Regions from separate parts of the Homo sapiens genome. Here regions 1, 2, 3, 4, 5 and 6 are each linked to region 7. Evidence: promoter capture Hi-C in human tissues and cell types (Jung and others, 2019). All regions are on one chromosome and are shown on one strand. Each heading gives the region's core, a stretch centred on a gene start or on the middle of the fragment in contact. The rest is flanking DNA. Distances are from core to core; before and after follow the strand shown. Region 1 has its middle 110 kb from the start of CASC18. Region 2 has its middle 93 kb from the start of CASC18. Region 3 has its middle 160 kb from the start of CASC18. Region 4 has its middle 130 kb from the start of CASC18. Region 5 has its middle 170 kb from the start of CASC18. Region 6 has its middle 62 kb from the start of CASC18. Region 7 holds the start of NUAK1 (NUAK family kinase 1).

What was found. Contacts are between HindIII fragments. The study calls those that stand out against the background at their distance.
Region 1: a contact is called between a fragment that was not itself captured here and the fragment with the promoter of NUAK1 in region 7, in 6 of the 25 tissues and cell types used here (H1 embryonic stem cells, aorta, dorsolateral prefrontal cortex and 3 more).
Region 2: a fragment that was not itself captured here is called in contact with the fragment with the promoter of NUAK1 in region 7 in 6 of the 25 tissues and cell types used here (IMR-90 fibroblasts, adrenal gland, aorta and 3 more).
Region 3: a contact is called between a fragment that was not itself captured here and the fragment with the promoter of NUAK1 in region 7, in 11 of the 25 tissues and cell types used here (H1 embryonic stem cells, IMR-90 fibroblasts, adrenal gland and 8 more).
Region 4: a contact is called between a fragment that was not itself captured here and the fragment with the promoter of NUAK1 in region 7, in 11 of the 25 tissues and cell types used here (H1 embryonic stem cells, IMR-90 fibroblasts, adrenal gland and 8 more).
Region 5: a fragment that was not itself captured here is called in contact with the fragment with the promoter of NUAK1 in region 7 in 4 of the 25 tissues and cell types used here (H1 embryonic stem cells, heart left ventricle, mesendoderm cells and 1 more).
Region 6: a contact is called between a fragment that was not itself captured here and the fragment with the promoter of NUAK1 in region 7, in 5 of the 25 tissues and cell types used here (H1 embryonic stem cells, IMR-90 fibroblasts, aorta and 2 more).

What each region holds. Positions count from the first base shown.
Region 1 is chr12:105,811,364-105,814,824 of GRCh38, reverse strand. No RefSeq gene overlaps it. Among named protein-coding and RNA genes, the nearest start is that of CASC18, 110 kb to the right of the region's middle. The HindIII fragment of the contact is 5,644 bases long and covers 1-3,461 here.
Region 2 is chr12:105,795,156-105,798,653 of GRCh38, reverse strand. No RefSeq gene overlaps it. Among named protein-coding and RNA genes, the nearest start is that of CASC18, 93 kb to the right of the region's middle. The HindIII fragment of the contact is 5,258 bases long and covers 1-3,498 here.
Region 3 is chr12:105,857,444-105,861,249 of GRCh38, reverse strand. No RefSeq gene overlaps it. Among named protein-coding and RNA genes, the nearest start is that of CASC18, 160 kb to the right of the region's middle. RefSeq lists an enhancer at 1-95. The HindIII fragment of the contact is 4,231 bases long and covers 435-3,806 here.
Region 4 is chr12:105,836,688-105,840,586 of GRCh38, reverse strand. No RefSeq gene overlaps it. Among named protein-coding and RNA genes, the nearest start is that of CASC18, 130 kb to the right of the region's middle. The HindIII fragment of the contact is 6,291 bases long and covers 1-3,899 here.
Region 5 is chr12:105,877,030-105,880,574 of GRCh38, reverse strand. No RefSeq gene overlaps it. Among named protein-coding and RNA genes, the nearest start is that of CASC18, 170 kb to the right of the region's middle. The HindIII fragment of the contact is 5,868 bases long and covers 1-3,545 here.
Region 6 is chr12:105,639,845-105,643,865 of GRCh38, reverse strand. No RefSeq gene overlaps it. Among named protein-coding and RNA genes, the nearest start is that of CASC18, 62 kb to the left of the region's middle. The HindIII fragment of the contact is 3,275 bases long and covers 1-3,152 here.
Region 7 is chr12:106,137,403-106,141,230 of GRCh38, reverse strand. It overlaps NUAK1 (NUAK family kinase 1), which reads left to right and starts at 2,277. Exons shown (of 7, transcript NM_014840.3): 1 at 2,277-2,817. The coding sequence starts at 2,578. RefSeq lists enhancers at 336-955, 3,347-3,828. The HindIII fragment of the contact is 8,166 bases long and covers 1-3,828 here.

The DNA.
Region 1 (3,461 bases), core at 119-2,618, 330 kb after region 7:
ATATGTATCTATGCCTGGCTTGACTTATCAATAAAAAATTATCTTTTTAATTACAAAGGTCTATTATAAATCGATATAGGACCTTGCCTGAATATTTCATAGAGGTAAACACCCACTTCCAGACCAGGCAATGAAAGAAAAAAATAATAAATTAACCTCTGGTTCAGACATCAGACTCTGAGTAACTCGGAGGAGGCCTGAGATGGATAGGCAGGTTGGGAGTGTCAAAATACCCACTTATAGATAAGCAGCCACTGGGGCACAGTGCAGAGACAAATGGGCCCCAGGGAAAGGCTTTCTTTTGTGCCTTCTGACTGTGCACAGCCGTCAAGAGCTGTGGGCTGTGATCATAGCAAGTAAGTTGGAACAGACAGGTGCAATGATAAAAGCAATTCCTATGGGAGGCTTATTTACACTGATGTCAGATGTCAGACTGGCAGGTGTGCCAGAACAAAAGAGAGCTATACAACAAGCTCCCGACTGAGCTGCTCAGCCTGGCCTTTTCACTAGCAGCCTAGTTTGGGCCAAATTTAACAAGACGTTGTCTCTTTCTTCCCCTGGAGAAGCTGCTGGGCTAGGAGACATTTAGTAAGAGTGGCTAGGCAGGGTGCGGTGGCTCACACCCGTAATCCCAGCACTTTGGGAGGCCAAGGTGGGTGGATCACCGGAGGTCTGGAGTTTGAGACCAGCCTGGCCAACATGGTGAAACTCCGTCTCTACTAAAAATACAAAAATTAGCCAGGCGTGGTCATGTACGCCTGCAATCCCAGCTACTTGGGAGGCTGAGGCAGGAGAATTGCTTGAACCCGGGAGGCAGAGGTTGCAGTGAGCCAAGATCGTGCCATTGCACTCCGGCCTGGGCAAAAAGAGCAAAACTCCATCTTGGAACAACAACAACAAAAAAATAGTGTCTAAAATGGCAATGTTAATATTCCTGTATATTTACCAACACATCACAGTTTACAAAAGCTTTCCATAGACTTCATTTCCTGTGAGTCTCACAATACCCATTTGAATATATGGTAATGATTGTTCTCTTTTATATTAAAGGAGATTGAAGCTCAGAAGTGTAATTGTTGAACTAGTATAGGCCAGTTGAAAAATAGTTTGGGTCACAATAGTTTAAGTTCTCAAGCCCCTCCCATGGAGAAAAAGAAGCAATGTATTTGTGCTACGAGAATTATAGTCAAGCAAATGTAATGTCCTCAGGGTGCTGCCAGCAAAAGACTTTGGTATGTGAAATGGGATGAGGCCAGAGAGCAGAAGGAGGTTCCCAAGGGAATCCGGGACCCTGACTCTTTACTCTTCTAGGGGAGCAACTGGGGCCCACACCCAGGGTCCAGAGTGAGCCGCACAGACTGACCAGCTTTGAGGCTTGATCGTTCTCTTCTCTTCAAAGCACTCGCTGGGATCTGGGGTCAGAGGTCTAATTGTATTTCTTGCAGATTCCTTCAGGCCACTAATGGGCTACTTGAAGAGCTAGCTTGCTAATAGCCTTCCTGCTTTTGGGAAGAGGAGCTTTTAAAGAAGAGGCATTTGTTAAATGGGCCACTCTGGAATTCTCCATTTATATGAAAAGGGTGTTTGATATTCAAGACGGTATTTGTCATTTGGGGGAAAGGTTAATTCAATTATTTTGTCTGGAGATGAAAAAGATGAAGAGCCAGCTTCGTAACAGGCTTCAGGTCTATGAGGGGCCGTCCTGGGGAAGATGGCGACCACCTGTCTGTCCTCTCAAAAATGGAAGAAGAATCAGGCTTTTGTTGAGGAAAGATCTAAGTGAGACAGATGGAATGACCTGTGTGCACTGGCTGCTCTTCTTGGCAGATTATCAGCAGATCCCCTGGATGTGACAGCATTAGGAAGGGGGCTTGTGGCAGATGATTCCCTAAACACTCTTCTTTGATTTTATGACTAGGATTTGTGATTTGAGATAAAGCTGGAAGAGTAAAAGCCAAAGAAAGATGACACCTAAATAGAGGCCCTGGCTACTGAGTGTAAGTGATGATTTCCCTGGACCTCAGTTTTCCAATCTATATAATTGGATTACTGTTACCCGTGTGGCTCTTCAATCATGGAGTTACAAAGATGGACCAAGATAATGTTGTAAAAGTGCACTTCAAACCACACAGCCCTGAGCAACTGAAAGAAACTATTTTTTCCTGGAATAAGTGTTGATTATTTTTCAAGTCTAGTGTGCACTAACATTTTTCTTCCTGCTTTGGATAAAGCTGCCAGATTGCTTTGGATCCAACCTTGGAATAACATGCCAATTACTTTCTTTGAGCTCTCAGACCTCTTCCTGCCTGCGCCTCCTTGAACAAGTCCTGCTTTGCTTTTGCTACCAATTATTCATAGAATGGTGCCATTTAGGCATGAAAGGAAGGGGGCCTCCAAAGAATATCTTCTAAGCCAGCACCCAATTCACATTGATTCTCCTTTTATGAGTGGTGATCCCACTTCTCTTTGAATGCCTCTGGTATTAGGAAAACTCACTATCTCATGTTAAAGCTTTTGCATTGTTTGAAATTTCAGATAGTTAACAATTCATTTTCCCTTATATGAAGCCCATATCTATTTCCCTGTAGCAGAGGTCAAAAACTGAGGCACATACAGAGAGAGGTAACATAAGTGAATGACCTGGGCCTGGTAAAGGCAAGGCGTCATGGAGGAGGGTAGTTAACTTCTAAAGAGATGCCTTTCCAAAGCAGGCATCTGCTATTCACACCAATAGATTATTGCCCTGCAGAAATATGGGCCCAGAGTTAACAGATCCAGCGCTTTCCTTGGACCTAGGGTAGTTTAACTTGTGTGGAGTACACAAAAGAATCACACTTGAAAGGAGGCTATTTGGGGTATTGTTAAATACTAAAATTAAAAACTGGATTTTAATGGTATTCTGAAAAGAGGAGTAAGGTGCAACCACCTCCCTCGATGGAGTGCCTCTTTCCAATCCCAAGTGCAGAACCTAGGGTGGCAGCCACAGTTGCTCTTCCAAAGGATGGGATTTCCAATCTGCTTAATTTTTAAGAGACAATGGAAATCTTTATTTTTATGTACAATTTTAAAGTTTTGATGTTAGCTTTATCTTAAACGTGTCTTAAGGACTGTACAGGCCAAACCAAACATTCTAAATATTTTCTGGGAGGTGAACGTGGCCCCCACACCAATGATTTTCAATCTCTGCTGTCATAGTGCTGCCAACCTCAGTCTTAGTTCTACTCTCAGAGGCAAATGGAAACGTTCCATGCCCTTCTCTATAAGAAGAACCTTCAGAGAGTTGAAGACATTTCTGCATCCTCTCTGGGTATTTTCATCAACAGGCTACAAATAGTTAGCAAATTTTTACTTCTCTCTTTGTCAGAACTTCCATCCAGGTCACTATCTGCTCGGCCCAAGACCCTTCAAACTAGACTATTAGAAGTAAAGGAGTCACTGCTTATGTCCATATTTGCAAGAGA
Region 2 (3,498 bases), core at 618-3,117, 340 kb after region 7:
TGGGTTAGTCATTCATAGCTGTCTGTCCCTCAGGGTGGGGAGATCATGTAATTCCTCTGAGAGAGGTGGTTAAGGCAATTCTCTGGAGAAGAGGAGAGCTGTGAGTTATTAGCAGCCAATCCTTCCTGGGTGAGAATCATGAACACGGAAAAATTAATATTTCCACGTGGGTGTGGCTCATTTCACTTCCTCTCACATTCCATTGGCTAAAATAAGTCACATGGCCATGTCTGACCTCAAGAGGATGGAAAAGTACAGAAATACAAGCTACACCAAGTTCCTGGAAGGAAAAGAACCAGAAATAATATGAACAGCTAAAATCTCTACCACAAAAGCTGTCCTGAATCCTATTCTGATCTATGTAAATCCCAACCATACTGTGGTCCCTGTTTTTTTTTTTTTTGGATTCCCACATGATGTTTGATTCTGTTAACACTAATACCACAACTTTATTACTTGAGTGCCTTGTGATTAGAGGAACTGAAAAAATGTATAGAATATTCATCCTTTGGAAACTATCTAAAGATTCCATAACAAGACAAAATACATAATGGAATTTCCATAAATGTAATATGATGCATACATTTAAGAAAAGGTAAATTTTGAATCAGGCGCAGTGGCACACGCCTGCAATCCCAGCACTTTGGGAGGCTGAGGAGGGTGGATCACTTGAGGTCAGGAGTTTGAGACCAGCCTGGCCAACATGGTGAAACCCTGTCTGTACTAAAAAATACAAAATTAGCCAGGCATGGTGGCAGACACCTATAATCCCAGTTACTTGGGAGGCTGAAGCAGGACAATGGCTTGAATCCAGGAGGTGGAGGTTGCAGTGACCTAAGATCACACCACTGCACTCCAGCCTGGGCGACAGAGCGAGACTCTGTCTCAGGAAAAAAAAAAAAAAATCAAATTTTGAGGACTTTTCTTGAAATAGGAACATATATAGTTAAAAACATAAAAAGGATGCAGGACTGAGTGTACACATAACTATATATGTCTACCCCATATATGTGAAAATAAATGAGACTGGATGAAAATAACTGACAATGCTAACAACAGTTAAAGACAATTTTATATAATTTTAATACAATTTTGCCTCCATATTTTTACAATGAATTTGTTTACCATTATTCTAAGAAAAAAATAAATATAATAAAAGTGTTTTTCAAAATAGTTTTATTAATTTGAAGTTTACTTTTTGGAAAAACTGGCCAGATTTTTACTTAAGTAGAAATAGGAGAGAAAAGCTTTGTCTTGTATTTCTCAGGATAGGAAATTATGGGATGAGAAGGTTCATTCTAAGCAGGAAGTATGAGTTGTTGGTTCTAAAATTTGGTTACGACTTAGCTCGTATTGAAATTGAATAGGACAGAAACATCATCTTCTTTAGCAAAAAGCCATAAGTGCAGTGATAACAACTCTGACCTTCCCTCTTATTTCTGGCTGCCAGATAACCTATCAGAGACAACTGAGGTCCAAACATTGGCCTTAGCTAATAAGGTAAATTCAATTGTTAGTTCATTTTCTGTACCTTCAGTTATTTGTTTCCCCACCCCTACATCTCCACTGACCTTCTTTCCCTCTCCATTCCCCCCTTTGTTCATCTATCCCTTCTTCTCTTTCTTCGTGTTTCTTGTCCCCTTTTCTTTTCCTCCTGCAATGAACATTTGGTGACTACCTCCCATGAGCCAGAAAAAGAGCTAAGATCATCCTCCCATAACTCAGCCTCCCAACGCTCAGGGAATGATATTAACAGACTTGTTAAAATATCATATTTTATTTAATATTTTATGTCTTTATCCTCTGTTGACTTCCAGAGATGGTTCTAGTCCTGAATACATTAAATACACAAGGGGAAGATAAAAATCACTGTGTATCTGAATAACAATATATTTGCTGAATACATTTGCTTCATCTGTAGTTAGTCAATAAAATAAGCTGTTTTAAATTTCGTTAGTTTCATTGATGATCCCTGATGGCTTACCATCATTCATAGATAATAAAGAGACATAAAATTATTAGTAGCAGAAAGAAAGAAAAGGAAAGAAGAAAGAAAAGAAAAGGAAAAGAAAAGAAAGAGAGAAAGAAGGAAAAAGAAAAAAGGAAGGAAGGAAAGAGGAATTTAGAGTACATAAATGAAAGAGAGCCAAGACTGACATTGGAAAAGTATATAACAAAAAGCCTTTTCCTTTGCTATGATTGGCTACAAACTCGACTTCATGTTTTAGCGGCCAAAACAAAAAGGGAAATATACACAATTCACCAAGTATATTACATTACAAACTGGTAATAAGGGAAATATAGACAATTCACCAAGTATATGACATAAAAACTGACCAGTTTGTCAGAAGAACTATTTTTAATATTGAAATCAGACAGGACCTCAACTCTGTGTGTAATGAATGAGGTCCTCTACAGCAGCCTGACAGGGGACATGATGGCAAATGTCATCAGCCTGAAGCCTCCTTCAGTACAGGCTGACGCCAGCCCAGCAGAGCCTACTGCCATAAAAGCCAATCTGTGGAGCTCTCGTTGGGTGCAACCCAGGCCCCCAGCATCTTGCTAACCTGGTTTAATTAGTGATAGATTTCAGAACTGGAAGAACAAATAGTTTTTAAATAGATCTTCCAGGTGATTTATGCTGCCTTAAGGACTGAATTATATATTAATATTTTTTATTCAATAAAACGTATTGGGCACCAACTCTGTATCAGATATTGCGCTAACTGTTGTAGCAACTCAATCGCTTCTTGCTGTTTAAGAACCTGAGACTCAGTGCAGACTTTTCAACAAAAAAGAATGAGGTTATTTGAATCATTTATTCACGTATGCATCCAACTGTCCACTCATTCATTCACTCATTCATTATTATTTGAATTCATAATTCAAATTTATTGAATATTTGAATTAAATATTCAAATATTCAAATATTTGCAGACCCTGCAAATATTTATTAAGGGTCTGCTATATGCCAGGCACCATGCTAAGGGCTAGGGTTAGAAAGACGAATAAGACAAGGTTCTTGCCTTCAAAGAGTCACTGTCTAATGATGGAGAGAGATCATGTTCAGCTCCCTGCTGTACTGAAGCTGTGTACCAAGAACTATGGATACACAGAGGAGAGAAATAATTGACACGTAAGCTATTTTTTTTAGTTTTTTAATTCCCATAGAAGCAGCTGGCTTAGACTGATAACTTTCCTTAAGTAGGATTGGTGGTGAAGGGAGAAATAAAGTGTACAAGACTTTGGAAATGAACAAGGATGGAGTAGAATGCAGGAATTAACAGCAAGAGCCCTAGCAGTGGATGAGCTTGAGGACTCCTCTGCTACTCAGTAGGTATGGAACCTCAAGGCGATCATAATGCTGGTGCATTATGATCATCTGGTGTCTAATGCGGCACCTGGTCCAAAGCACTGACTCAATACCCTCTACGGTTGTTTGTATTATCATTCCGTCAAGTCCACCTTGCATGAGGATGTCTTATTTGAACACCAAAT
Region 3 (3,806 bases), core at 1,301-3,800, 280 kb after region 7:
TCAATTTCTTTTGACTCAACAGCAGTAGAGCCCTCCCTTGGAAGTTACACTGGGTGAAGTATTGATTGGAGCAGATGTAATGGGCTGATAAGCTTTCTGAGTGCCAAAGAATATTGGCTTCTTATAAGTGTCTTGGCATTTGTGGATCTCCTCTCATTGGGTCCTAGATGAAGCCCCACTGAGGCTGTCCTCTGTAATCAGCAGGGCAGGCTTCACCCTGTGAGATTGGGTTACACTTCACGCATCTGTCTCCCCAGGTTTCTGGGTGAAATCATTTTCAACCTGAATGCTTACTGGTTGACAAGCTACATACTGTCATCCCTGATGGATGGGATGGTGGGAGAAAAGCTACCACCTCATTAAGGGCACAGGTTAACTGAGGGTGATGGATTTTTCATAGCTCTGAGAAAGTCTACAAATCCTTTGTATAAACACTAGCTTGACAGTGAAAACAATTTTCCCTTCTTTTGTTGAGGGCAGCAGACAGAGTAAATATTGACAGATGGACAGGTGTGCTTTGCTAAGAGGCCCACGGCAGGTAAACGAAGCAGGGGAGGAATGCTTTGGTTGAGTCATTATCAACAAAGGGAAAGCCATTCTCTTTGGGCTCCATGTTTGGTATGATGGAGATTTTATGAGCCTGAAGAGGCAAGTTGGAACTTTGTAAGGCATTAAAGGCACATCTAGGGCTTGAATTTACCCACACCCACCCCGCCAAGATTCTGATGCAGAGGGCCTGAGGTGGAGCCCAGGCATCCATCTGTATGTTTACAAAGCTTCCCAGTGGTTTGGAGGGATGTGGTCCAAGGTGGTGAGCCCTCTTAAGACAAAAATGTTTGTGTTTAGTGTGACCCTACTCCCCAGGCATTTCCCAAATATGCTGTCTCGTCCTGAGAGCTTGGGGACAGTGTAGGTGATGCAAAGATACTACCTTAACCTAAAACTTTTAGAATGTTCAACTTGGACATTGCTGGGAAGAGAGCCTCATCAGGTACAAAGATGGATGTCCCAGTTGAAATTAAATTAAATTAAAATTAAAATCCAAACCCTGACAGGCCCCACTTGACCTGCCTACCATTCTATCAATCCCTCTGGCCTCACTGCCCCTTGCTCCCTGTACTTTAGGCTCCTGCCCTGATTAGCTCCTTTCTCCTCTGGCCCCCTCCACACATGCTATTCCCTCAGCCTGGATGCTCTTTTCCCGCTTTCTGTAAGGCCATCTCTGAACCACCCCCGGAGTTCAGAAGGTGTTCCCCATTATTCTCCCTCCTTATACCCTGTCTTCTTATTTATGAAAATGGTTGTCTTTTGCTTTTTGATCATCTCCCACATCATACTGTAAGTTCCATGAAAGCAGAAGCATTTTTTATTTCTACTACCATTGTGTCCTCAGAGCCCAGTGGACTTCCTGGCACATAGTATGTGTTCAATACAGGTTTACGTGGTGGTTGAATGAATCCACACAGAGCTGAATGAACTCACCATCTGTATTAGTCTGTTTTCATGCTGCTGATAAAGACATACCTGAGGCTGGGTAAATTATAAAGAAAAAGAGGCTCCACATGGCTGGGGAGGCCTCACAATCATAGCAGAAGGAGAAAAACTGTTCTTATATGGCAGTGGCAAGAACTTCCATGGCAGTGGCAAGAGAACTTACATGGCAGTGGCAAGTTCTTACATGGCAGTGGCAAGAGAGAATGAGAAAAACCAAGCAAAAGGGATTTCCCCTTATAAAATCATCAGATCTTGTGAGACTTATTCACTAAGAACAGTATGGAGGAAACTGCCCCATGATTCAAGGATCTCCCACCGGGTTCCTCCCACAACATGTGGGAATTATAGGAGCTACCATTCAAGATGAGATTTGGATAGAGACATAGCCAAGTCATACCACCATCCATCCTCAAAGGAACCTAGAGACCACAGCCTGATGTTTCAAGAGTCCAAGCTATTTTTTCTAAGAAAGGCACAGTTAGTGTGAAATAATGAAGTCGCATTCTTGGCTTCCTTGGTCAATGGCCCTCACAGTCTTCTGGCATTGCTTTTTCCCGTTGAGTCAGCTCTCTCCCATCTCATTCTAGGCTCCCCCGCCCACCTTCCCTCACTCATGCCATGCCCTTGTTTCCTTCTTTAGGGAAAATCACAAGCCACTGAGAAAACTCCTCTCAATGTTCTCACTCCTTTCTCCTTCCCTTCTTCATTTATGTCCATATCTTTCCTACCTTAGAGTCTCTCAGAGGCTGAGATGTCTTGTACTGAGGGTAGAACTAGGTCTGGGAAGGGGGCTGGGAGACACATGGGTCCTGGAAGAAGCTGGTAAGCAAAGGACAACCTCTAATATTTCCAACTGCCTTTAGCACCCTCTGCCTTCTAAATTAGCCTTGGTGGGAAAGTAGAGGCCCACTCCAGGTGGGGGCTACCATAAGCCATCTCTTGTCACCAAATCCTTCCTCTGTATATGCCTTTCCACCAAGTCATATGATACAGATGAAATGAAGTTTGCCTTCAAGGGGTTTAGAGTCACATTTAAGTATCAGGTTAAGTACCTCAACCTTGAAAAACACACACACACACACACACACACACACACACACACATAAACACACACACGTGACAAAAAAATAAAGATGGGCAGAAAGGGGATCCATTCTATTGTTAGATCAAAAATTTAAAAATATAAACCTAATTGAATTCATGCTTTATGGAAATGGCTTTTAATTGGTGAATCAGATTAGCACAGTAGCATAAGATGGCAGGAAAGACAAGAAGATAAGGAATTTGGTTTGTATCCTACTTTTACTATTTGCTAGACTTTGTTAAGTCACTTAACCTTTGATCTGGAAACTAGGAATAATTTTTAATTTTTAAGGATTAAATAACATTCTTGAAGTGAAAGTTTCTGGTACAAAGTAAGTACACAGAATAAAATTAGGTCACATTTATTGGGTGCTTACTATGTGCCAGAAACTTCGAGATGCTTTGCCTTTGCTAACTCATTTAATCCTCACAACAGCTCCATAGATGTTTCCCTGCTTTACAGAAATGGAAACTGAGGCACAGAGAGGTGGCAGAACATACCAGCAAATGGGGATTCAGAATTTTTCTACAGGGGCTGGACCGTCACCACCTTTCCACAGTTCCCCTCTGTCCGTAAAAAATTGCTCTCTCTATGCGTTAGTTCATCAGGGTTCTTCTGTATTGAAATGAGGGAAGAGATGAAAATAGTATCACTTTAAATTTTTCAGCATGAAACTGGAAGGCAAAAGCAGATGGGTATGTCCTGGGATTGAAAAAATAAGTTGAGCACCTCATGTTTTTCAAAATATTTCTTAATAAAAGAAGTAGAGACTGTTTGAATTATAAGGGCTGTCATCTGTCATGTAAGACATCATTCCCTCTCTGCCAATGCAAAAATCTCCTCTGTTGGAATTTGACCTATTATGGGAGCTTCTTCTTGAGTGGGGCAGCCCAATGCACTTGAGTTTCCTTATCCTTTTGACATGCGATTGTTGCTGGTCCCTGGTGCCCTCTGTGCCCGTGGGCTGCACCTAGAAGATGCCATTCTCATCAGCAAATGGCTAGAAGTTCAAACTTACATGAGTCAACATTTCCAAGGATTTATAGTTGTAGGCATTTCTATTCCTACTGTCTTCACTAGATATTTACTGCAAGTGCCTGTGTCCAGGAATGACATTTCTATGTGGGCAACAGAGCTGACATCAGCTTAGTGTTTCCTGTTTCAGCCTGATGTTTCCATGGCTCAGTATTAATTGTGGCAGTATAGAGGGTTTTAGCATCCAGATGAC
Region 4 (3,899 bases), core at 440-2,939, 300 kb after region 7:
CCCCCAATTCACTAGCTAGTGCAGTCTTTCCAAAGTGGAGCTTCTCGGAAGCATGAGTTTTGTGAAATTAATGGGTGTTGCCACACTGACAGACAAAAAAAAATTAAGAAATACATACGTGTTGATCAAATAAGTATGGATCACTGGATTAACAACATCAAACTGGTTTATTTGCTAGAAAACTTCTCCGAACCTATATGAGCTCTTGTACATTGTGAATTTCCAGGAATTATAGAATACAGTGTTCCCAAATTTATTTGACTGTGGGACACTTTGGGTTATTTTTTTCCCCCAAAAAAACATGTTTCAGGACTGGTGCTTGGCCCGTAAGAGCTAATTCATTCATTTATGTATTTCACTATTAAATAAACACTTATTAGAATAGCAAAAATAAGGACTATTTCTCAAATGACATGCTATCTTTATGAAAATGCCATACTAGTCTCTCCAGAATAGTGTGTGTTTGTATGTTTGTGAACGCGTGCATACATGTGTCTGCATGCACACATGTGTATATGCCTATGTGTGTGTGTTAAGAGAGGATAAAGGGAGAGGGAGCAAGACAGGGATGGGGTGAATCTTTGGCTTGGATGCTCATGTATATGGCTTCCAGAGGCTTATTAATGAAGATACCATCTCAATCCCTGAATAGAATTACATTATATCAAGTGGACTCAGGCTAATTGTCTGACTAATTTTAAGTTCAGTAAAAAGAACTGTCCAAATCATTTATCTTCTAGTCCATCGAATGAAATATGCTGCTACAGCAGAATATGTTTATGCCCAAACCAACTTTTAATATGCGAAAGTAACTGGCCTTTCTTTGTAATCATTTTCATTTTTTTTCCCTAAAAGTCCTTATCAAAAAAATTTCCCATATTAAAGATGATAATGCTTTTGTTGGGGGAAAAAGTGGGATGAATGTTTATTGAGCATTCCTTTTAGACCACTGCTAGGCCGAGAGTTACAAATACGCAGTCTTATTAATTCTTCTAGCAACGCTGTAAGATAGGTAATCCATTTTTCTCCTTTTAACAGATGAGAAAGTTTTGTGAGGACAAGCATGCATCTTTCTTTAGTACCTGACTCATAGTTGGGTCTCTATAACATATTTATTGAATGAATGAATAAATGGTTGGGGAAACTGAGGCTGAATGAGTTGGCTCAGGATTATCTTGTCCATGTTAAAAACTGCATTTGAACCCAGGTCTGTCTGACTCCAAAAACCAAATGGTTTCCTCCTCATCATTTCAGAAACTAGCAAAATGCTTTTATGTACACCATTTGATTTTAGAATCCTGTACATTTTCTAAATGAGGGCAGTGAGACTCAGAAAAATAGTATGTCCAAAGTGACTAAGGTAGTAGAGAGAAGATTCAAAACCCTATCCCAGGCCTTCTGACTCCCATTCCAATGCTCTTCCAGCTACATCACAGATCTTTTGAGCACCCCCTGAAATCGCACCCAAACTGATGTTCACGTGGCAGATACCTCACCACCCTCTCCTCACCTCACGCCTTAAATTCTCATCTTCAGGCCCCTCTGTCTCAGGTGACACTCATGCTGGTAAAATGTCCTGTGTTTTCTGCCGGAAGTAGCCAGCCCAGACAGGTGCAGGAGAGGTCTGCTCTAGAGGGATATATTGCACAGCCTTGTCCCTGCCTCCCCTATTTCACCGCTGATTTCTGATGGGACCCCCAGATGAGTATCATCCCCCTCCTGGCCATTTACAACCTGCAAAGCAACTTGAGTTCCTCCAGAGGGACTGGCAGCTCTGTCAAGACCATATACGATTTTCCCATGAAAAGTACCTTTGGAAGAAGATTTCTTCATCAGTTTCCACCATGAACACAGATGGACACGTTTCTCCAGAATCTTCTCTGCTGTCATTTGCTGTCCTGCAAAGAACCTGGGATTGTCCTTCGCTGGGACAGAGAGGGTCAGGCCCAGGCTGGAAGTTCTCGGTTCCACTGGTGCTCTCGGGGGGAAAAATGTGGTATTTTTCCTTTTGTCTTTTCTGCTTTTGTTTTTCGCTTTGCTCCAAGCTGATGATTCTCTCAGCTTCTGTCTTCATGATGCCAACACTACCAAATGAAAAATAAATAATGCCCCCAGAAAACCCCAGGGTTGTTCATTTCTAGACACAGAACCAAAGAACTGACAGCACTCAGCTTTTTCCCCTCCCCAAATAAAAGTTACTTACATACCTTGGGAAGGCAGGTTCTAAGGCTACTAGAACTGTTTAGGAAAAGATGATGTGTATATTAACAAATGTCTCTCCTCTTTTCTCTTACTTTAGGCTCTCATCATTTCTCTCTCTCTCTCTCTCTCTCTCTCTCTCTCTCTCTCTCTGTATTTATTTATCTATTTATTTTGAGACAGAGCCTTGTTCTGTTGCCCAAGCTGGAGTGCAGTGGCGCAATCTTGGCTCACTGCAACCTCCACCTCCTGGGTTCAAGCAATTTTCCTGTCTCAGCCTCCCGAGTAGCTGGGACTACAGGTGTATGTCATCACAGCCAGCTAATTTTCATATTTTTAGTAGAGACGGGGTTTCACCATATTGCCCAGGCTGATCTCGAACTCCTGACCTTGGGTGATCCACCTACCTCAGCCTCCCAAAGTGCTGGGATCAGGCATGAGCCACAGCACCCAGCCTCATCATCTCTCTTTTAGATGATTTTGATCAGAGGTTATTGTGCATTGAATTGGGTCCCCCCCTGTTCCCCCAAATTCATGTATTGAAGTCTTAGCCCCCAGTACCTCAGAATGTGCCTATACTTGAAGATGGGGCCTTCAAAGAGGTAATTAATGTAAAGAGAGGCCACATGGCTGGGCCCTAATCCAATCTGACTAGTGTCCTTATAAGACGAGGAGATTTGAATGCAGACAGTTATAGAGGGAAGACCATGCCAGGATGCGGGGAGAAGACAGCCTTCCCCTTCCATAAGCCAAGGAGACAGGCTTGGGAGATACCAACCCTGCCAACACCTTGATCTTGGACTTCTAGCCTCCAGAACTGTGAGAAAATAAATTTCTTTAAGCCACTCGGTCTGTGGCACTTTGTTATGGCAGATTTTGGCATTGAGAAGTGGGGATATGCTGGAACAAATGCCTAAAAATGTGAACATAATCTTGGATGTGGGGAAAGGGTAGAGGCTGGAAGAGTTTTGAGGTACATGTTAGCAAAAGCTTAGGTTGCCTTGAAGAGGCTGTTGGTAATTTACCAGACTAATGCAGAAGTTAATTTTTTAAAAATGCTGGATGTGGAGAAGAAGGAGTTTCGATTGGAATTGTTTCAAAGTTCCAGGCATTAGAATGTAAGGTGCTAGGTATCTTGCATATGTTAACTCATTTATGTTTCATTATAATCCTGAAAATTAATTTTACGTGTAATATATAAATACATTAAGTAAAAATTATTGTTCATGTGCATACTTAAATAAATGTATAATTCATATAAATAGGTATCTTAATGAATATACCTATTTTACAGCCAATAACAAGAATGGCAAGGAGTAACAATAGCAAACATGTTATTAAGCTCTCACTATGTCAGACACTGTTCTAAGAGCTTTGTATTTTTTTTTTTTGCCTAAATTTTTACAATAACTCTTTGAGGTAGGTACGACTTAATGAAAAATAACAAAATGACATAGTAATTAAGAGCACAAGCCCTGGAGTCAGATACCTGAGTTCAAATCTAAATTCTGCCACTTGGTTTCTGTGTGACCTCGGGCAAATTCCTTAACTCTTCTGAGCACCAGTTTCCTTATCTATAAAATGAGGATGATGATAATGATAATAATAATAATAATAGTTCCTACTTTATTGAGAGGGTTAAAACAGTTACTACATATGAGGTCCAGGCACTTAGGCTGGAGCCTGGCCTAATTATTATT
Region 5 (3,545 bases), core at 974-3,473, 260 kb after region 7:
TTTTCAGCCGACTGTAATGTTAATGTCTGTTCAAGTGGCATGTGTAAGACACGAAACTCCATAGTCACCCAGGCAACATTCAAGCTACCATCTTCTTTCTGTTGGGTCACCCCAGGAGCCTCTTAACTGGTCTCTCTACCCTTGCTCATTCTTTTCCACCCCCATAATTTACTGATCTTTTCTTCACCCAGGACCCAGAATGAACCTTCTAAAATGAATGTTAAAATAGTTTACTCTTTCTCTACTCTTTTTTTTTCCCTACGTCTTCATTCAACAAATGTTTGCTGAGCCCTTATTATGTCAGGTGCTGTTCTAGGTGCTGAGGATATATCAATGAGTCAAGCAAAGATTCTAGCCCTTGTGGAGTTAGCAGAGGAGGCAGAAAATAATGAAGATCACCAATAAAAAGGAAAGGAACAAAGACTAGGAAGAAAAATAAAGCAAGGGAAGGAATCATGCAAAGATTGGGGATAGGGTTGAGGGAAAGCCATTCAAATTTTAAGATAGAATGGTCACATTAGATCACATTGAGAAAGTCATTTGAGCTCAGAACCCTCAAATGGTTTCTCTTCTCAGAGAAAAACCTAAAGGCCTTGCAATCGCCTGTAAGACCCTACAAGATCTAGACACCCCCACACCCCAACTTCCCTGACGTCATCCCCTATTACTATCCCTCTGGCTAAGTGGTCTTCAAATTTTGGTAGTATTCGATCATCTGGAGAACTTGTTAAACCACAGATCACTAACACTAGAGAAATCCAGATAAAGTTTGCAGTTTAGTTATTAGTGCCATATAACTGTTAATCTCTTAGTTTTGAAAAATGTGCCACGATGGAGTAAGAGGTTGACATCAAGGGAAGATGGGTGTAAGGAAAATCTTTGTACTGTCTTTACAACTCTTCTGTCAATCTGAAATTATTTCAATATAAAAAAGTTAACACACACACACACACACACACACACACACACATATGCATGCACATACACACTTCTGGGCCCCACTCCAGAGTTCCCATACCTGCAGGTGTGGAATGGGGGCTGAGAATTGGCACTTCTAACTAGTCTACAGATGAAACTGATGCTGTTTGTCCTAGGACCCTGTTTGGAGAACCACAGCCCTGGGTCACTCTGCCCCAGCCAGGACAATCTTGGTCCTCCTGGAACAGCTCAGCAGGCTCCTACCTCAGAGCATCTGCACTTGCCTAAAATGCAATTCCCTTGAGACCAAGGTGTGCAAAGCTCATTCCCTTACCACCTGCAGGTCTCTCCTCCACAGGGAAGCATGTTCACCTTGTTCAAAGTGCCTAGCCTGTTCCTCACAGTCTCCCATGTCCATCTTTCCTGCATTAGTTTTTTCTCCATAGCACTAGGAAGTGACACACTCTGTACAGTCATGCACTGCATAGCTGTGATTTAGTCAATGAGGGACTGAATATACAACAGTGATCCCATAAGATTATGATGGAACTGAACAACTCCTATCGCTTAGTGACTTCATAGTCATCCTAATATAGTAGCAATGCGTTACTCACGTGTTTGTGGAAATGCTGGTGTAAACAAACCTACTGTGCTGCCAGTCATATAGAAGTCTAGCACATACAATTAATGTGTATGATAATACACTCGATCATGATAATACACGACTATGTTACTGGTGTACATATTCATGATACTATACCTTTTATCGTTATTTTATAGTGTACTTCCACTGATAAAAAAAAAAAAGTTAACTGTAAAACAGCCCCAAGCAGGTCCTTCAGGGGGTTTTCTAGAAGAAAGCATTGTTATCATAGGAGATGATAGCTCCATGTGTATTACTGCCCCTGAAGACCTTCCAGTGGGACAAGATGTGGAGGTAGAAGAGAGTGATATGGATGATTTTGACCCTTCGTAGACCCTTTGTGTTTGTGTCTTAGTTTTTAACAAAGCAGTTTAAAAAGTGAAAAAAATAAAATGAAAAAAATTAAAAATAGAAGCAAGCTTATAGAATAAGGATATAAAGAAAATAATTTTGTGCAACTGTGCAGTGTGTCTGTGTTTTAAGCTCAGTATTATTACAAAACAATAAAAATATTTAAAAAATTAAAAGTATATAAAGTAAAAACATTACGATAGGGTAAGGTTGATTTATTATTGAATAAAGAAAAAACTTTAAATAAATGTAGTGTATCCTAAGTGTACAGTGTTTATAAAGACTATAGTAGTGTACAGTAATGTCCTAGGCCTTCACATTCACTTACCACTTACCCACTGACTCAGAGAAACTTCCAGTCCTGAAAGCTCCATTTATGGGAAGTGTCCTATAGAGGTGTACCATTTTTTATCTTGATGCTATGTATTTTTATTGTTCCTTTTCTATGTTTAGATATACCAATACTTACCATTGTGTTATAATTGACAGTATCCAGTACACTAACATGCATGCAGGTTTGTAGCCTAGGAGCAATAGGCTTTATCATCTAGGTTTGTGTGAGTAAGTACACCGTGTGATGTTCACACAAGGATGAAATCGCCTAAGGACACATTTCTCAGAACTTACCCCTGTCGTTAAGTGATGCACGACTGTATTTACTGTGTATATATATTTCTGTCTACTAACTCCCATCCCAGAAATGTAAATTCCATGAGAGTAGCTTCTCTGTCTTATTCTCTGCCATGTCCCTGGCACTCAGAAAGGCGTCTAATCATAGTGTATGCTCAAAGACTATACGTTTACTGAAGGAAAGAATGAATAGAGTAAAACTGTCCATGAGGAGTGGTGGAGCGGAGCGGTTAAGACATAGGTGAAGGTGGAAACCATCATTCTCGGCAAACTAACACAGGAACAGAAAGCCAAACACTGCATGTTCTCACTCATAAGTGGGAGTTGAACAATGAGAAGACATGAACACAGGGAGGGGAACATCACACACTGGGGCCTATTGGGGGTGGGGGGCTAGGGGAGGGATAGCATTAGGATAAATACCTAATGTAGATGATGGGTTGATGGGTGCAGCAAACCACCATGGCACGTGTATACCTATGTAACAAACCTGCATGTTCTGCACATGTATCCCAGAACTTAAAGTATTAAAAAAAAAAATGCTCAGCTTCAAGAGTCGGAATGATTTGGGCTCAAATACTTACTTAGCCACATCCTTCTTGTTTAGCCTTGGAAAAAATACTTTCCTCAACTACAATTCGGGGGTTCCAGTTATACTATCTCATAGAGAAATGTGAAAATTCAATGCAATAATGCAGATAAATTATCACAGGGCTGGGCACAGAGTAACATCTCAATAAATGTCAGTTCATAATATTTTTGCTCTACAAATTTGATCCGTGTCATAATTCAAATAGGACCTTGGTTAAACTTCAACTTTGTGTAGAAAACCATTTCTTTAGGGTTGGTAAAAAGTGAATAATGCTATGGAGAATATTTAAGCTATTAAGAGAAGAAACTATTTTTAAACACTCCCAAGCACTTTCAAAGTGTCTTGTTGGTGTTCCAATTATCTCTACTTTTATTGAAAATCATTCTATGTAACCCTGAAAGTAAAACCTCT
Region 6 (4,021 bases), core at 266-2,765, 500 kb after region 7:
AAGGGACCTTGTCTCAGCCTAGTGATACCACATCACAGTGGCAGCAAGAAGCAGAAAAGAGGGGAGACATACAAGTACTTGACATTTAAAACACAATGACAATATCCATTTGTAAATATGGTTCAGTTTATGTCCTAGAATTCAGCCAATCAGGAAAGCAACTCCTTCTCATGTAAAGAAGGACAGAGAAGGATCAGGAAAAGCAACAGAAAGGGAGTTAGACAGCCTCTCCTCACCCAAAACCCCCTGGCATCAGTGATTCTCAAAATGTGGTGGGCGAACTGTCTACATCAGACTCACCTGAGATGCAAATTCCTGGACTCTCCACAAACGCACTGAAACTGAACCTATGGGGTGGGGATCAAGAGTCTGCATCTTGTCCTGGGCGTGGTGACTCACGCCTGTAATCCCAGCACTGTGGGAGGCAGGTGAATCCTTTGAGGTCAGGAGTTTGAGACCAGCCTGGCCAACATGGCAAAACCTGTCTCTACTAAAAATGCAAAAAAAAAAAAAAAAATTAGCCAGGCGTGGTGGCGCGGGCCTGTACTCCCAACTACTCAGGAAGCTGAGGCATGAGAATCGTTTGAACCCGGGAGGTGGAGGCTGCAGAGAGCCAAGGTCACGCCACTGCACTCTAGCCTGGGTGAGAGCAAGACTGTCTCAAAATAAAAAAAAAAAAAAGAATCTGCATCTTACAATATCCCCAAGTGAACTATGAGAACCATTTGTCTAATTCCTAATTCACTGTGAAGTCATTGAAGAGTGGAGGCAGTATTGTAGTGAGGGAGGGGCTAAAGACCTGGCAGCCACTCCCTGCAGTCAGGGTAGAAACAGCCCTGGGGCAGCTGGCTCGGGTGCTCAGCCCTCAAAGCATCTGGATACATCAGAGGGATTGCCTGCATCTCTCCTTCCTCATCTGTGACCGTAGAGGGGCAGCTCTCCCCTGACTTTCATGACGTTTTTGTGAACATAAAATGAGCTGATGTGTAAAAAAGCTTTTAAAACTTATATAACCTGAGGAATTATTTATTCCTATGAACTCAGAAATAACCACCTTTCCCCACTTCCCCTGCAGTTATGGGGAATCAGAGGTTTGTGTTTTCCTCTCAACAGGCTCTCCACAAAGATTATATTCACCAGATAATTGCAGACTTTATTCTCTTCAACTTGTGGATTCAGTCCCAGGATGGGTGCCCATAACTAATGGGAAAAAACATTTTTAAAGAAAAATCTATCTTCTCTCCTTAATGTTATTAAAAGGTCACTGCAATTTGATGCTCCAGACTTCCATCTTGAGCTCTAGGCTTGGGTATTTCTACCTGGATATGCCTCTGCTCAACCCTGCAACTTATGTGTGTCCCAAAATGAACTTCTAAGTTTTCATCCCAAATAACTGGTTTCTTCCTCTTGAGTTCCTCATTCTGATGAATGGCCTCGCCATCTTCTAGCACCTCTAACTCAAGAATGCATTGTCAACTTGGGGCCCTCTAGATCCAGTCACTCTCCCCCCAGAGTTTCTTGCTTACATGTTCTTTCTTTTCTAATCCTTCTGCTACTGCCTTCATTATGGCCCCCATCCATCACCACTTTGGCTCAGGTACCAGGCTGTGCAGTAGTAAAAATGTAAAGTAAGGTCTAGAATGTCTGCTCAGAGCTGAGTCGTTCTCACATAAGTGAGCCTTACACAAAAACAAAAGACATCATCTATTTGGTTGGGTATGTGCTTGAAGGCTGACAAGACCTGGGAGAGGATTTTAGAGATCTCCCCGCTACGGAAGCTCTGCTCTGCTTCCACACTTAGGGAAGCTTCCAGCACAGACTGAGAACAGCATCTGTCCTGGGAATTCTGAGATGCACTGAGCGATTTGGCTTGTTTATTCACCATCACTGCATCCTTTCCTGAAAATAAACTACATTCCACAGTGATCTTTGGGGTTAGATTCTTGTCCATGACAACTCTCTAAGGATTCAAAACAGGAAGCCAGCAGGAGCTGGTCCACAAGGGAATCCTTGAGCCCCTATGCTAGCCCTGGCCTGCCTCCTTCTGGACTTCTGGTTGCGGAAGACGAGTAACTCCCTTACTTTAAGCCATCACTGGTCAACTTTTCTGTTGCTTGCAACCAAATACAACCTTGTCTGAGAGTGAAAAGACGGAGCTGAAACTTAAGCCCAAATCTGTCTGACTTGTCAAACATATTCGCATAAACGCTTCTCATACTCTATACTGTGGCTTATCTGAGGCAACAGATGTGCAAATGGAGAAGGAAAAAATAAGATATCCTAACATGCCAGAGAAGGCTCAAGCTAGCAGCTGATATTCTGCAGCCCCTGCTTCCAGGTTTCCAACCCGGATGACTACTCTGAGAGGCACCATCCATAGGCAGCCAGCTGCAACTTTAGCATAACTTTAAGCATTCTGGGAGCTAATTCCGCCACGTTTGGGGAATAGGATTAGAGTAAGACCCTGATTTGGTTTTTACAGTCTGCCAGGGGCTATTCCTTTCCTTTTACCACTTCCTGGGTCTTTAAACCTCCAGCTTGGCCTCAGGAAATTTTATGAAACCAGAACCTCCATAACTGAAGGCACAGCCTCCATCAACATTTGAATCAGATGGCCCTTCCACTCTGGGTGACAGAAAGGAAACCTCTTTGCCTTATGCCCTAGGAAATCAGCAACCCTCATCTAATGTGATCAGTGTTTGTATCTTGTGGCCTGGCACCAAACTAGAGAAAATGGATACAAACAAAAACATAAGGTGGGGAGTTTTGTACTAATCAGAACCTTGCTCCAGATCATCCCTAAGGCATTAGAATCAAAGAATATAACAGAGGAAAAGTGGGCTAGAGGGAGCTGGTCGGGGAGAGCAGCCAGCTAACAGCAAAGGAATGCACCATCAGCTTTGATCAGGTTTGACAGGGCATCCATCCTCTGTAGCTGGTCCCATTCTCCAGTGTTTACATTTGTCACATCTCTTTTCCTTCCAAACAAAGGATGCTTGACAGTCTGAATGGGTAATTTGCAAGGTACCAGAGCTCCTCAGCCATGCATACACATACATTTTCAGATGGGTTGAGGGCAAGTGGAGGGCACCAGCTACATTTTGAAGACAATGAGGCCAATACCCTTGAAATGTGCCCAGTGCAAAAATAACATCTTGCAAGCCCTTATCTTCATTGTGAAAACTAAATTAATGACTCTTTCACCCACTATGGAGGCCAGCATGTATCAGAGCCCAAGACTTCAAGAATGAGGCTCAAAACACATCTGTAGGAAAATTTAGTGATTTTGACTCTCTGCCCAGACTAATATACTTCTTAAAGTTTGCAAAATTTTATTTTCAGTTTCAGTTGTCTATTATGCAACTTACCTATTGCATGAAAAATGGGTTTTCATTTCTCCCCTCAGGTGTTTGGAGCACTCAGGGATCTGCCTCCATTTCTTGTGCTAGAGCTAAGAGGGGCTACATGTGAATGTGCATGCACATGCCTGCATGAGCGAACTTGACGAGCATGGGGTACAAGGCACCACTGAACTTTGCATTCTTGATTAGAGTTTTGGCTGCAATAGCTGAGCCTGATTCAGTTGATTTCAGTTTTACAAATACCTTCAAACTGTTGATCAGCTACATTTTTGCTTCTAAGCAGACCCACCATAGGAATACCAAACAAACTCCCTTAGTTTAGCCAATCAGCATATTTACTGGAAACTGAACAATTATTGTTCTGAGCAGACACAAGACATGACCAAGATAGGACCCAGGCCTGTAAGGTATGACAGTATAAGAGAGACACAATAAGGCAGGGAGTCTTCATTGGGCCTTCAGAGACTGTTAGAATAGGAACAAATGAGTATTGTGGCTTATGCACCCTGTTGTGGTTTGGCTGTGTCCCCACCCAAATTGCACCTTGAATTGTAGCTCTCATAATTCCCACATGTTATGGAAGGGACACAGTGGGAAATAATTGAATCATGGGGACTATTTCCCCCAGACTGTTCTTGTGGTAGTAAATAAGTCTCAGG
Region 7 (3,828 bases), core at 1,028-3,527:
ACATAAATAAAGTTTAATATTTGCTGACACTACTTTTCCAATGCAGATTGGCTGGGATTTTCTGCCATCTTTACACAGAGACTCAGGCTGGCTTGGGGAGGCTCCAACTTTGTACCACCATGATTGTCAAGATAGGAAAAAGAAGACATGGGGATTTGCTCACTGGCTCCTAAAGGTTCCAAGTGAAAGCAACACAATCACTTCTGCTCTCATTCCATTGGCCTAAGCAAGTCCGATGGTCTCATCTAACTTCAAGAGGATGGGGTAGTGGATTTCTACCACATCGCAGGGGAGGGGAAGAAGTAGAAAATATTTTAAAATACTACTGTAGACACAATGTGTTTATCTCTACAATAGATCTGCTAAATCCATATCTTAAGAGAAAACCGAAGCTCTGAGAGGTTATGTCATTTGACCAAGGCCACACAGCCAATCCTCTGGGAAGCCAGGACTCAACCTGCATGCCACTCATCCTGACTGTGGGATCTATAGGCACAACGTCCACAAACTGTATAGAAGCAGAACAGTTTCAGGATGGGGGTGGGTGGCAGGGAGGCCCTGCAAATGCGGTGGACAGAATAGGAATTGAATAGGCATGATGCGCCTTTGTGTCTGTGTTCTGTCATTGCTCCTGGGGAAGGGAAGAAGGGGCAGGGAAGTTTGTGTGAAATATCAGTAGAAGGAAAGTTTGGACAGGTAAGAATATCACGCGTCAGAGTACAGCAGAGACACGTGTGGAGGATGAGGGCAGTGTTTCAGGCCATTACTCTGGCAGCAGTGAGGAGGCTCCCGGGGAGGGTTGGGGAGAGCGGGCTGTTGCTGGAGTCCGGGGTAAGGTGACCAGGGGTAGACAGGAATGAAGGCGGCGGGAATGTAGAGGAAGGGCTGCACCTGAGAGCTGCAGAGGAGGCCCCAGTGAGGTCCACTGGTGGAAAAGAACCGCCATGCGATCTGCAGAACACCAGACCTTCTTCAGCCTTCACTCTTCCCACCCTAGTCTGGTACATTGCACCACTTGTTAAAAAAAAAAATTTCCCTAAGACCTCTTTTTCTCTAGCCTTCTTCCTTATTTTTCATGGTCTCTTCTTAGAACGGCGGCAGCCACGCCGCGGTGGGAGGCCCTTCCTGCCTGACCCTTACCGTGCGGGGTACCGTTCCTGTCACCATCGCCAGGATCTGGCCCTTTCAGTGAAAGGAAATCTCCCAAGGCCTAAGGAGGCAAGAGGCCTGCAAATCGCCTCCTGCTCAGCAAACGGGTTGCTCAGCAGGCCCGGGGTCCTGGTCCACCCCAGGTCCCTGGTTTGCCCACCTCCGATGGCGGCCTTCGCTGGCAGGGTGGGCGCCTCTGGGGAGCCAGCTCCGTCCCGGCGCCTTTAGAGCCCCATCTCTTCCACGTCCCTGGCCTTCCTCCCCTTCCAGGCGGCTGTCCCCGCCGGGGTCCAGATGGTGTCGGAGGGCCGGCGGTTCGACGGCGGGCCCGGGGTTCAGCCTCCCGGCCTCCCTCCGTCCCTGACTCTCCTTTCTTCGGAGAGGGCGCGGGGGCCGGGGCCAAAGCGCCGCTCTTGGGGTTCTCCTGGACTCGGAGTTGCCCCAGGCGGGCGCAGCTCTGCCCCGCGGGGTGCCAGCCTCGGGCGGGCAAGGTCCGTGAGTCACCGCCTGTAACCGAACACCAGGCCTCCCTGCCCCCTCCCCCAGCTCCGGCCGCCAGGCTGCGGCGACACCTACAAGAAAATGAAGGGGCGCCCAGGCCCGCGGCGGCCCCGGCCGTATCGCGAGCAGGTCCCGGCGGCCCCCGGCTCGCGGCGCTCTTTCTTCCCCGGCCCCGGGGCTCGGCCAGCCGCAACCGCCGCCCCGGCGCCAGCAGGAATCCAGGCCGAGCGACCGGCCCCGGAGCCCGAGGCGGCGGAGGGCCCGCGGTAGCTGCGACTGGCGAGCCCGAGAGCGCCCGGGGAGGGGGCGCCCGGCTTGGAATTTCCCGGTCCCTTCCGGCCCAGCGAGGACAAAGCACTCCTGGCCGCCGCCGCCGCCGCCGCCGTGGCCTACGCCGCGCCGCACAAAGGGCGAGTCGCGACACGCTCCCATCCCCCTCCCAGCTCACGGCGGCCCCGGCCCCGGGTGGCTGCAGGGAGGTGGGGGAAGCCCTGGCTGCACCGCCCCTCGCTCCCCCTCCCCTGGGGCCGCGCGAGCGCCGCCCCCGCCCCGTCTGCGCGTCCTCCCGGGGAGGGGTTGGGGGGCGCGGCGCCCCACATAACACTCCCCCTCCTGCGCTGCGAGCCACCCTCTCCCCTCCCTCCTGCAAACACCACCGCCTCCCCTGCCACCGCCGCCACCTCGCCCGACGCTCCACAGCTCGCCGCGGCCGGGGGGCGGTGCGCGGACCGTGCGCGCCGCGGGCGCCAGATGTGCAGTCCCCGCCGCCGCCAGTGACCGAGCCGCAGTCCGAGCGGTATCGGGCCGCCTCCCTGATGCTGCGGGGGCGACCTTGAGCGTACAGCGGCTTCCCTCGGTGGGGACCCCGACATCCCAGCGCTGTGCCCGGTCTTGCCCTCTGTAGCCCGGCTCGCCCCGCGCTTGGACATGGAAGGGGCCGCCGCGCCTGTGGCGGGGGACCGCCCCGACTTGGGGCTGGGGGCGCCGGGCTCTCCCCGAGAGGCGGTGGCGGGGGCGACTGCAGCCCTGGAGCCCAGGAAGCCGCACGGGGTGAAGCGGCATCACCACAAGCACAACTTGAAGCACCGCTACGAGCTGCAGGAGACCCTGGGCAAAGGCACCTACGGCAAAGTCAAGCGGGCCACCGAGAGGTTTTCTGGCCGAGTGGTGAGTGGGGCAATCCTGGAGGGTGCGGGGGGCGCTGGGTGGACGCGGCCGGGGACTGAGGGCGTGCGAGGCGGGGGTCTGTGCGCCCTGGGGCTCTCTTGACAGAGAGGGGGCTCATTGGGAAGCCCCGAGACAGACTCCTCACTCTTTCTCCAGCACCCCGTGACTCAGGCGTGTCTCTGTCCTGAAACACTTGTTACATCCTGTCTGCACATATTTTATTTTATTTTTTGGTTTGTTTTTAAAAATTTAATCCTAGCAGCAAAGGAATGTTTTAGATTTGCAAACACTTTGCAGCGTTGGGACGGCCGGGGTCTCTCTCCCTCGCAGGCACTCATTTAGACCATGCCCCGAAACGTCTTATTTCCACAACTCTCCAAAGAACCACATTCCCAGCTAGGAGCTAGCCCCTCAAGTCCGGTGTTTTGTAGGTGTCCCTACCCCCTTCCACCCATCTGCCCGCAGCTCCTTGCTCTGCATCCTCCCACTCAGACTCTGCATCGCCCTGATACTGCTGTGACTGCAAGGGAGGGCGACTCTTGCCTGTTTTTGAGACAAGGTTAGGGAGCAAAAATAAAGACTACTGCAAGCCTGAGGATTCTAACAGTTTGCATCATGGCTTTGGGAGGACCGAAATGTCCAGGGCATGGGTAGCTACAGAGATAGCTGTGCTTAGTTGCAGCAGGCTCAGTTGTGTTTCAGCTCCTGGTTGCAGGGCTACCAAACCGCTGAAGGGGTCTGGCCCCGCTGCTCTTGTGACAGCTGACACCCTGCCAGGGTCCTGGCACCATTTGCACAGCTCCAAGGAGTGCTTTGAGTGCCTTGGGGTCTGTCTGCCTTGTCCCAGCCTTGGTTTGTTGTTATTTTCACTTCTGCAGAACAGGCCCTTGAAATCCACACTGCTTGTGGCTAGAGAGTTGGGTTCAAAGTGACTGACTGTTGCAGAAAGATTTTGTGTGGTGTGTGGCAGAAAATTAACATGGTTCTTTGATTTGAAGCAGATCAGATGTA